3 separate regions of the Homo sapiens genome follow, and regions 1 and 2 are each linked to region 3. Evidence: promoter capture Hi-C in human tissues and cell types (Jung and others, 2019). All regions are on one chromosome and are shown on one strand. Each heading gives the region's core, a stretch centred on a gene start or on the middle of the fragment in contact. The rest is flanking DNA. Distances are from core to core; before and after follow the strand shown. Region 1 overlaps LAPTM4B (lysosomal protein transmembrane 4 beta). Region 2 overlaps MATN2 (matrilin 2). Region 3 holds the start of MATN2 (matrilin 2).

Region 1 (3,200 bases), core at 669-3,168, 51 kb after region 3:
TTTTATGCCAAAATTAAGACAATGAAAGGCATTGAGATTCAAAAATTCAAAGTATGCTGGGTGCAGTGGTTCACACCTGTAATCCCAAAACTTTGGGAAACCAAGGCAGGAGGCAGCCTAGACTACAGGGAGAGACCCTACCTCAAAAAAAAAAAAAAAAGAAAGAAAGAAAAATAAATAAAAAAAGAAAAAAGTTGAAAGCATAAAGAGCCATGAGAGTTTTCTACCCATTAGTAGCTCATAAGCACAAGTTATAATGATGGTTTTATAAACAGATTGACCAAGATGAAAAAGAATTTGCAGCAATTGATTGATAAGGGTGAGGCACTGCTGCAGGAAGTAGAAGTCATTTAACTTTGGGGGACATCAATTTGACAACCTATCAAAGGCTTTCCAACCATGAACACCCTGATTTTAAGAAATTTATCTTGAAGCCGGGCACAGTGGCTCATGCCTGTAATCCCAGCTTTGGGAGGCCGAGGTGGGCGGATCATGAGGTCAGGAGATCGAGACCATCCTGGCTAACACAGTGAAACCCCATCTCTACTAAAAATACAAAAAAATTTGCTGGGCATGGTGGCGGGTATCTGTGGTCCCACCTACTGGGGAGGCTGAGGCAAGATAATGGCGTGAAGCCGGGAGGCGAAGCTCGCAGTAAGCCGAGGTTGCGCCACTGCACTCCAACCTGGGCGACAGAGCGAGACTCCATCTCAAAAAAAAAAAAAAAAAAAAAAAAAGGAAATTTATCTTGAGATAAATGCATAAATATAAGGATGTACTTAAATATATTCACTACAGCCCTATTAAGTGAAAAAGTAAAAAATGTCTCAATGCTCATCAAGTAATTTATTAAATAATGATATTCATATAATGGATTGAGATAGAACAATATTCAGAAAATATTACACTTTTAGCAAAAAATTACAAAAGAATATCCATTACACAGACCTTGTAACAGACGTTGCAATATCATATACTATGTAATGTATAACATTATGTTAACTTATCTCTGTCCAAATATATTTTGGACTCCTTGATCAAACTGTGGAATTTTGATTAGTGTTTACCTCCAACATAGACAGCATAAAGAATTGTAATCTTAGGAAATCAAAAAGCAATTTGGATGTCCAAAGAAAGACAATAAACTGACCAAAGTTTGTTTACTTATTTGGTATTCAGGAATACACTTAATATTTTTAGACTATAAGTAAAATCTTCATGCTTACCTTAAAAGTCAAGATAATGCTAATAAACAGAAGAATAATAAGGACCAAACAGGTAGGATTCACTGACATGACATCATCTCTGTAGGGAAAATTAGGAGGCTGCAAAAGAAAAGGGCCTCATTAGCAAATCTCATTAATCATTCCAGACAGTATTCCTTGGGCACCAATTCAGACATGCTTATCAGAAAGCAACTGATTAAAGCAGACAGCTATTATTTAGAACCAATACAAAATTTCTAGCCTGACTCTGCCCTCTTACCATATAAAAGACGTCAGTGATCGGTATCCAGGGACATTTTGTATATCCAGGGATCTCTGAAATTTGTATTCTCTGCAAGTTCTGAACCATTCCTTTTTTTTTTTTTTTTCTTTTTTGAGATGGAGTTTCTCTCTGTCGCCCAGCTCAGCTACTTGGGAGGCTGGGGTGAGCAAATCACTTGAGCCCTGGTGGTGGAGGTTGCAGTGAGCGAGATCATGCCACTGCACTCCAGCCGCCCGGGCGACAGAGCCAGACCATGTCTCAAAAGTTCTGAACCATTCTAAAGGGCATATGCAGGGCAAGGGACAGAAACCTACTAAAATGAGGTCTTCTTTGCAAAGAGCATTTTTGTTGATGGTACTTCTCCCAAGACAGCATATTCTCTTATACTAGCAAGTACTTCCAGGGTGGGGGGAAATAATCAAGCACTACCATCCACAATGCTTAACAACCAGGTCAAAGGGAACCTTTTCAGGAGGATCAAAGTCTGCTACTATGGTTAGAGGGAGTTGCCGGACTTTCCCCACAGAACACTCACACAGCATTGATCAACGCCTACATCACTGGCCTAGGCAAGTGAATGGGAAGGCAGCCTACTGTGCTATCTCATCTTTTATCTCCCTTCACCATTCAACACTATGTGTTTGGATTCCTCACGAGCAATATTCCAAAACAAAGTTGTTTCCAATGTTGAGGAAGAACATGGAGAAGGCCCATGACTCATGGGCTTGGCTCCTGCTCACCAGGGTGAACACCACCTAATGGTTTTCAGTCTCCTTTCACTTGGGACAAAATATCTAAGAAATAAAATCGTCATTCTTTGTGATCAGATCATGCAACTTTACTCTTTTATTAATAAAATAACTTGGCCAAGCACAGTGGCTCATGCCTGTAATTTCAGCACTTTGGGAGGCTGAGGCAGGCAGATTGCTTGAGTGCAGGTGTTTGAGACCAGCCTGGACAACATAGTCAAACCCCATCTCTACTAAAAATACAAATTTAGCCGGGCATGGTGGTGCATGTCTGTAGTCCAAACTACTTGGGAGGCTAAGGTGGAAGGATCACTTGAGCCCAGAAGATTGAGGTTGCAGGCTGGGCATGGTGGCTCACGCCTGTAATCTCAGCACTTTGGGAGGCCAAGGTGGGCGGATCACCTGAGGTCAGGAGTTCGAGACCAGCCTGGTCAACATGGCAAAACCCCACCTCTACTAAAAAAAAAATACAAAAATTAGCCAGGCATGGTAGTGGGCGCCTGTATTCCTAGCACTCTGGGAGGCCGATGAGGGTGGATCCTCTGAGGCTAAATGTTTGAGACCAGCCTGGAAAAGATGGTGAAACCCCATCTCTACTAAAAATACAAAAAATTAGCCAGGCTTGGTAGCGGGTGCCTGTAATCCCAGCTACTCAGGAGACTGAGGCAGGAGAATGGCTTGAACCCAGGGAGGCGGAGGTTGCAGTGAGCCGAGATCACAACACTGCACTCCAGCCTAGGTGATAGAGTGAGACTCTGTCTCAAAAAAAAAAAAAAAAAAAAGTAAAGTTGGCCTGGTACAGTGAGTCACATCTATAATGCCAGCACTTTGGGAGGCCAAGGCTGGAGGATCACTTGAGTCTAGGAGTTTGAGACAAGCCTGGGCAACATGGTGAAACCCCATCTCTACATAAGATACAAAAAGAAAAATTAGGTGGGCATGGTGGTGCATGCCTATAGTGCC
Region 2 (3,431 bases), core at 732-3,231, 45 kb before region 3:
CTTTAACTGAATAAATTGCTTCATCTGCTTTCTGAGAATTCAGCAAGTGAAAGCCAGAGCAGAGCAGAGACCTGTGAATAAATAGCAACACAGGGCTGGGCTGCAAGAGAGGAGAGGAAGGAGGTGGAGGCCCCAAAACACAGCGCCTCAGGGCCTTTCCCTGGAAGGAGGAGGGGAGGAGGTGTAGGTACACAAGGAGGAAGGGGCCAGTTAGATAACAGGGCACAAGGTTCCACAGCCCTGTGCCAGCAAAGGCAAAGTTTGTCTTCGGAGACAATTCTATCATCATTTTGGTTTGGTTGAGTTGTACAAACATTGCAGGAATCCCCTCTTTGTGCTGGGTGCTAGGGATAGAGTATGAGAACCAGTCTCAGCCTGGGAGGAGCTTACAACCCTGTAGAGAAGACAGATTCATTAAGATTCATAAAAAATATGAGCAGGCCAGGCACGATGGCTCACACCTATAGTCCCAGCACTTTGGGTGGCTAAGGCAGGAGGACTGCCTGAGCCCAGCAGTTAGAGACCAGCCTGGGCAACATGGTGATACCACATCACTACAAAAAAAAAAGTTTTTTCACAAGCCAAGCATGATGGCGTGCGCCTGTAGTCCCAGTTACTTGGGAGGCTGAGGCGGGAGGATCGCTTGAGCCCAAGAGGTCAAGGTTGCCGTGAGCTATGATTACACCACTGCACTTTATCCTGGGCAACAGAGAGAGACTCTGTCTCTAAAAACAAAAAACAAAGCAACAACAAAAAAGGACGAGTGACTAGAGCCTGGAGTAGATCACCAGTCCCAAGATAGGGGGTGGGGGAAGATCCCTGGACAAGGTGATGAGTATTATAATAGGATGATGTTATTATAAGGTGAGCAGGTGTTGACCAGGCAACAAGCTGGGGTGTGCATTTAGGTAAAAGGGCAGCGTATGCAAAAGCTGGAGGCCAGAACAGAGTGGGATGCACACGCACCCAGGTAACCACAGGTGATGTGGCAAGGCTGGGTCCTAAAGGACAAGTTGGGGAAGACAGGGCCATGTGGGTGGACGGCATGTGCCTCCTGCATAAGAAGTCTGGACTTCAGGCAGGGCACAGTGGCTCACACATGTAATCTCAGCACTTTGGGAGGCTGAGGCAAGAGGATCACTTGAGCTCAGGAGTTTGAGACCCCCTCTCTACAATAGATTAAAAAAAAAAAAGTAGCCGGGTGTAATGGTGCAGGCCTGTAGTCCTCGCTACATGGGAGGCTGAAGCAGGAGGATGGCTTGAGCCCTGGAGGGTGAGGATGCAGTAAGCCATTATTGTGCCACTGCTCTCCAGCTTGGGCCACAGAGCAAGACCCTGTTCCAAAAAAAAAAAAAAAAAAAAAAAAAAAAAAGGTCTGGATTTTATTAGGACAAACGAGGAGCACTGAAGGGTTTTAGATGTGCCCTTCCTATTTTAGGCTTATTCTAAGGGTTCCTGACAGCCCAGACTTCAGTCTTCTCCATCTATGGCCCAGCCCAAAGCCAATCTCTCCAGGCCTGACCCCCAACCCTGCTTCCCCTCCCATCCAAGCTCCCAGCCTACTCTTGGGTGTAAATTAATGTTTCCTTATGTATATACTAATAGAGAAGGCACCAGAGAGAATGTTAAGGCCACTCCTTTGTCTCTGGGAGTTGAGTTTCTGCCCCTCTGTTATCTAACCCTGGACTTAATCCCAAAGGACTTTCAGATGGTGGAGCAAATAGTTTAGGTCAACGATGGGCCCTTTCAACTCATCTCTATTTGGTGTTCAACTCCTCTACCTATTTAATCCAAATTTCAAATGAAATAAATATCAGGCTGAGCAAGGTGGCCCATGCCTGTAATCCCAGCACTTTAGAAGGCCAAGGCGGGCGGATCGGCTGAGGTCAGGAGTTCGAGGCCAGCCTGGCCAACATGGCAAAACCCCATCTGTACTAAGAATACAAACATTAGCTGGGCGTGGTGGCACGTGCCTGTAGTCCCAGCTACTTGGTAGACTAAGGCAGGAGAATTGCTTGAACCCGGGAGGCAGAGGTTGCAGTGAGCCGAGATTGTACCACTGCAATCCAGCCTGGGCGACACAGTGAGACTCCATCTCAAAAAAAAAAAAAAAAATGGCAGGGTGCAGTGGCATATACCTGTAATCCTAGCACTCTGAGAGGCCGAGGAAGGCAGATCACCTGAGGTCAGGAGTTCAAGACCAGCCTGGCCAACATGGCGAAACCCCGTCTCTACTAAAAATACAAAATTTAGCTGGGTGTGGTGGTGTGCACCTGTAATCCCAGCTACTTGGGAGGCTGAGGCAAGAGAATCACTTGAACCCGGGAGGCAGAGGCTGCAGTGAGCCAAGATCGTGCCACTGCACTCCAACCTAGGCAACAAAGCAAGACTCCATCTCAAAAAAAAAAAAAAAAAATCGATTGCTGTCCATGTCCATTGGCACTTGGCATGAACTCCCAACTCTCCCCATGAGTCTTCCAGCGTTGCAGAAGCTAAAAGGACAAAACAAATATTTCCCAGACTATCTTTCAGGCAGCTAGGGTTCTGGGTAAGAATTGGGGAACCCCAATTCAATATATTCACAAAGGATGAAGTGGGGTGGATGGTGGCTCTGCCAGCAAGCAAGGTTTTAGAAAGCCAGTTAGTTGCGGCAGCCAGACTTCGTGTTCTGGTGTCTGCTCAGCAGCTGCACAGACGTCAGTTCTGGTGGCAGCACCATCCTGATCCCAGTGAGGTGCTCTTGCGTGGTGGTCCCTGGGCTCCCACTCCTCCAGCCCTTCCAACAACTATATAACCGAATTCCCCGTGTTAAATCTTTTTCTTCCTGAAATACCTAGAGAGCTCTGTTTCCTGCACTGGCCCTGGTGGCTCCGTCAGCCTCAGCATATCTGCCTCTGTCATCCTCAGCATCTTGGCCTCTTTGATGCCTCACTCACGTATCACCCCCACTCTCTACTGAGGTCGGCAAACGGGGTGGAACAGAAAAGGCAACCAGGCATGCTCAGTCCTCTTCACAAAGCTGACCTGAAGGCCTAGTCACCCAAGGTTGGGGAAAGCAGAGCTGCCCCTCCTCCCCACCCCTACGTCTCTGCAGGCCCACCCTCATCTTCTGCAGAGACTCCCCTAGACACAGACTTGTACTCATCCTCCAATTTGCTTGGAAACTCTGTACACTTTGATACAATGCTTCATTTCCTCCATTCTTACTTGGCAGAAGTCGTAACTCCCTAAACACACTGGGACAGTATATTACACAAAAGGAAAACTATTGAGCCAACGATTTGTTTCCTCAGCGCTCTCAGCGCTTCAATGCCCGGCTCCAGCTGCTCTCGCTGACTCCGTTAAGCTTAACGCCCTATGTTAGGGTTGCTATGGAAGCCAGAAATAACATTTCAGGAATCTCTCACAGGCTTGGTGACTTGGTTTCTAGG
Region 3 (3,392 bases), core at 652-3,151:
GCCTGAGATTGAATTCTATTGGCAGAAATAAAAGTAAAAAGTGTGGACAGATAGGAAAATGCAAGGTGAAGAGCCATAAGTATCTCATTCTCCACAGAGGATTCTAAGTGCCAAGTTTCAGGGACTGAGAGGAAACATTCCAGGTCATAAACCCATGTTGGTATTTTGACATGGTTTTATGAGGTTGGCCCTTTGGGAGCAAGCAGGGAGAACTGCGCCCGTGTGGACTCCTGCATGGAACTACCAGTTGCATACACGTGGCTTATCTGCCACCCTCACGTACCCATGGAGAGCCTCTCTTTCTGAACTGGGGAAGAGGTACATTCACTGCTCATAGCAGCTCCTTGCTATTTCTGCAAAGACAAGCCATGGAACTCACCTAATCTTAGAATGCTCCTGGAAATGTTCTAAGGACTTTACTTGCCATATCTTTTTTTTTTTCTTTTGAGACGGAGTTTAGCTCTTGTTGCCCAGGCTGGAGTGCAATGGCACCATCTCCGCTCACTGCAATCTCTGCCTCCTGGGTTCAACCGATTCTCCTGCCTCAACCTCCCGAGTAGCTGGGATTACAGGCATGCGCCACCAAGTCCGGCTAATTTTGTATTTTTAGTAGAGACGGGGTTTCTCCATGTTGGTCAGGCTGGTCTCGAACTCCCGACCTCAGGTGATCCGCCCGCCCCGGCTTCCCAAAGTGCTGGGATGACAGCCCTGAGCCACCGTGCCCGGCCGCCATATCTCATTTAATCCTCACAGTTCTGTGGGTATTACCATCCTCATTAGACAGATGAGGAAACTGAGGCATACTTGGGTACCTTCAAGTTATCAACCCTGTAAACTTCACAGCTGGGGTTGAAACCCAAGCAGGCTGACCCCAGTCTCTGCTCTCGACCACGGGTCCCTGAAGTCTCTTGACTGCCCCATTCCTTAAAGGCCGATTTTAAGTGTGCTTGGTGCAGATGCATTGTGGCTTCCTGATTTATGACAAATTGAAACTTGGTCAATTGGGTTTGTTCAGGGTGGGCGCGAGTGTCCCTGAGGAGAGCACTTTCCTGTGCCCCCAGTCCTGGAGACCCTACCAGGGACAGTCCCCATTTCTCTGTCCTCTCCCCAAACGGCTCCAAATTGTTCTGGGGTTTCTAGCAACTACCACAAAATGCCTTCCCCTTTCTCTCCCTCTTCCACAATATAGGGAAGCTGGAGGTTTAGCTGCCATAGAGACCCAAGAACAAAATCCAGATGACACGGGCATGAAAATACCAGGTTCCGAAGAGGGAAGGGGGAGCCATCGGCTGTCCGTGGAATAGGAATCACCCTGCATACCCGCTCAACAGGTCTCCCTTTCCCTGGGTCGCGGTGGCCGGGGTCTGGGCGTCCCCGCTGCGTGCCACAGCGCCCCCACGGGGCACTCCGGGGCGGCTGCAGCGCGGCTTGTCCTGCGCAGGGAGCGCGCCCAGCTCTCCCGGCCGAGGGGTCGGGCAGCGCCGCCCTCCCTCTCCCCCTGTCCTCGGAGGGGTCGAAGGCGCCGGGGCCCCGGGGCGCTGGGGGCTGCAGTGCGGGCCTGGGGAGGGCGCCTGCGCGTCGGGCAGCCCAGGCTCGGTATTCTGTCGGTGGGTCGGTCCGCCTGCACTTCGAGGCCGCCCGGCCGCGCAGAGCCGGGGGAAAGCGCGCCGCGCTCACCTGCAGCCGCCGGCGCCTGGGAAGCGAGGCAGGGGCGCAGCCACCCGGGTCTTCCTCGTCGGCCTCTTCGCCTCGCCGAGGGCCGCGGCTCTCCTCGGGGATCGCTCGTGGGAGGCGAGGACGGAGCCCCAGCTTCTGCCTCTGCCTCTGTCTCCGCCGCCGCCGCTTGCTCCAAGTCCCATCCCAGAGCGCTCCCTTCGCTCGCTGGCTGCCTGGGAGGCGCTGGGCAAGGGCGGGCGGCTGGGGAGGCGGTGCCGCGGCGGGGGTGGGGAGCGGGCCGGGCGGAAGGAGGGGTGTCCTCTTTGGGGATGGGGAAGGCGCGGAGAGGGAGCGGCGGCGAGGGCGGCCCCACCCTGTGGGCAGCCCCGGGAGCTGGGCACTCTGGCGGCGCGCCCTGCCTGCTGCCACCTGGCTCCACTCCGTCCGTGCCTGAGCCCAGGCGGGCATCAGACTCCAGGGGTCCGGAGCCGCAGGCACGGAACACAGGCAGCTTTAGGGGCCTGTCGGGTTGGGAGTGCGGGGAGGGGTCTTCTGGGGGAAAGGAGACATGGCAGGAATCTTACATCTAGAACTTGGGGTCATGACCTGCGGGACGCACCCACTGACGCGGGGATGGAGAAAAAAGTGGTGAGAATTGGGCTAATTGATGACAAGCGCCAAGAGCTGTCTTGCCAGTGCCCAGAGCACCCCACCAGTGCCAGTTCATATTAACAGAGCGTCCACTGGCTGGGGACCAGGCCCCGGGATGGGGAGGAGGTAAAGATGCCAGGATGGAGAGGAGACAAAATTCCTACCCCGAGGGAGCAGGGAAAGTCTAGTTCAGACAAGACTTTTGAAATTATGAGCAGAGACATTTGCAACTTTGCAGAATGGAGGAACCTCACCTTGGATGTCCCCATGGAGCCTTGGAGGGATGCAGAAGACAGGATTGGCCAGCGACAGTCAAAGTGGCCGGCACCCCCCTCTACCAGCTCCCCAGTTCCTGGAGGCTGGGGTGAGTGGATGTATAACAGACCAGGACATCTCCTATAAAGCTCCAAAATTCTGTTCCCAAACCACTAGCCAACGCACCCAGTTCAGGTTTTGTGTTTTTGTTTGTTTGTTTGTTTTTTGAGACGGAGTCGCCCAGGCTGGAGTGCAGTGGCGCAATCTTGGCTTACTGCAAGCTCTGCCTCCCGGATTCACGCCATTCTCCTGCCTCAGAGTAGCTGGGACTACAGGCTCCCGCCACCACGGCCGGCTAATTTTTTTTGTATTTTCAGTAGAGACGGGGTTTCACCGTGTTAGCCAGGATGGTGTCGATCTCCTGACCTCGTGATCCGCCCGCCTCGGCCTCCCAAAGTGCTGGGATTACAGGCGTGAGCCACTGCGCCCGGCCCCAGTTCAGGTTTTAACAAGCTACCAGCAGAGGCAGCAGCACTAACTAGTTTCAAAACCTCTGGATGTGCCACAGTCTGATAATTTGGTGCTTTGGGCGGACTTTGTTTTGTAATTAACCATCATTCCTATTTGATGATAGAGTTGATTTCTGAAATATGAATAAACGCCAAAATCAATTCTTCAGAAAAGCTCCAGGAGGGGTAATTAAAATTCCAGCCATGAAGCAAGGGGTTAACATACTCGAGCCATCAGGCAAGTCAATGATACCTTAATACCAAGAAAGAATTGTGGATTCCTGTTCCTTTACCCAGTACCTTAGGCCCACTGGGCACTCT

Evidence for each region. Contacts are between HindIII fragments. The study calls those that stand out against the background at their distance.
Region 1: a contact is called between a fragment that was not itself captured here and the fragment with the promoter of MATN2 in region 3, in 2 of the 25 tissues and cell types used here (aorta and spleen).
Region 2: a contact is called between a fragment that was not itself captured here and the fragment with the promoter of MATN2 in region 3, in 2 of the 25 tissues and cell types used here (bladder and mesenchymal stem cells).

What each region holds. Positions count from the first base shown.
Region 1 is chr8:97,817,265-97,820,464 of GRCh38, reverse strand. LAPTM4B (lysosomal protein transmembrane 4 beta) reads right to left here. Exons shown (of 7, transcript NM_018407.6): 5 at 1,227-1,325. Among named protein-coding and RNA genes, the nearest start is that of LAPTM4B, 43 kb to the right of the region's middle. The HindIII fragment of the contact is 7,378 bases long and covers 1-3,200 here.
Region 2 is chr8:97,912,300-97,915,730 of GRCh38, reverse strand. All of the region lies in intron 2 of MATN2 (matrilin 2), which reads right to left. Among named protein-coding and RNA genes, the nearest start is that of MATN2, 45 kb to the right of the region's middle. The HindIII fragment of the contact is 4,576 bases long and covers 1-3,431 here.
Region 3 is chr8:97,867,573-97,870,964 of GRCh38, reverse strand. It overlaps MATN2 (matrilin 2), which reads right to left and starts at 1,901. Exons shown (of 19, transcript NM_002380.5): 1 at 1,678-1,901. RefSeq lists an enhancer at 2,301-2,800. The HindIII fragment of the contact is 19,586 bases long and covers 1-3,392 here.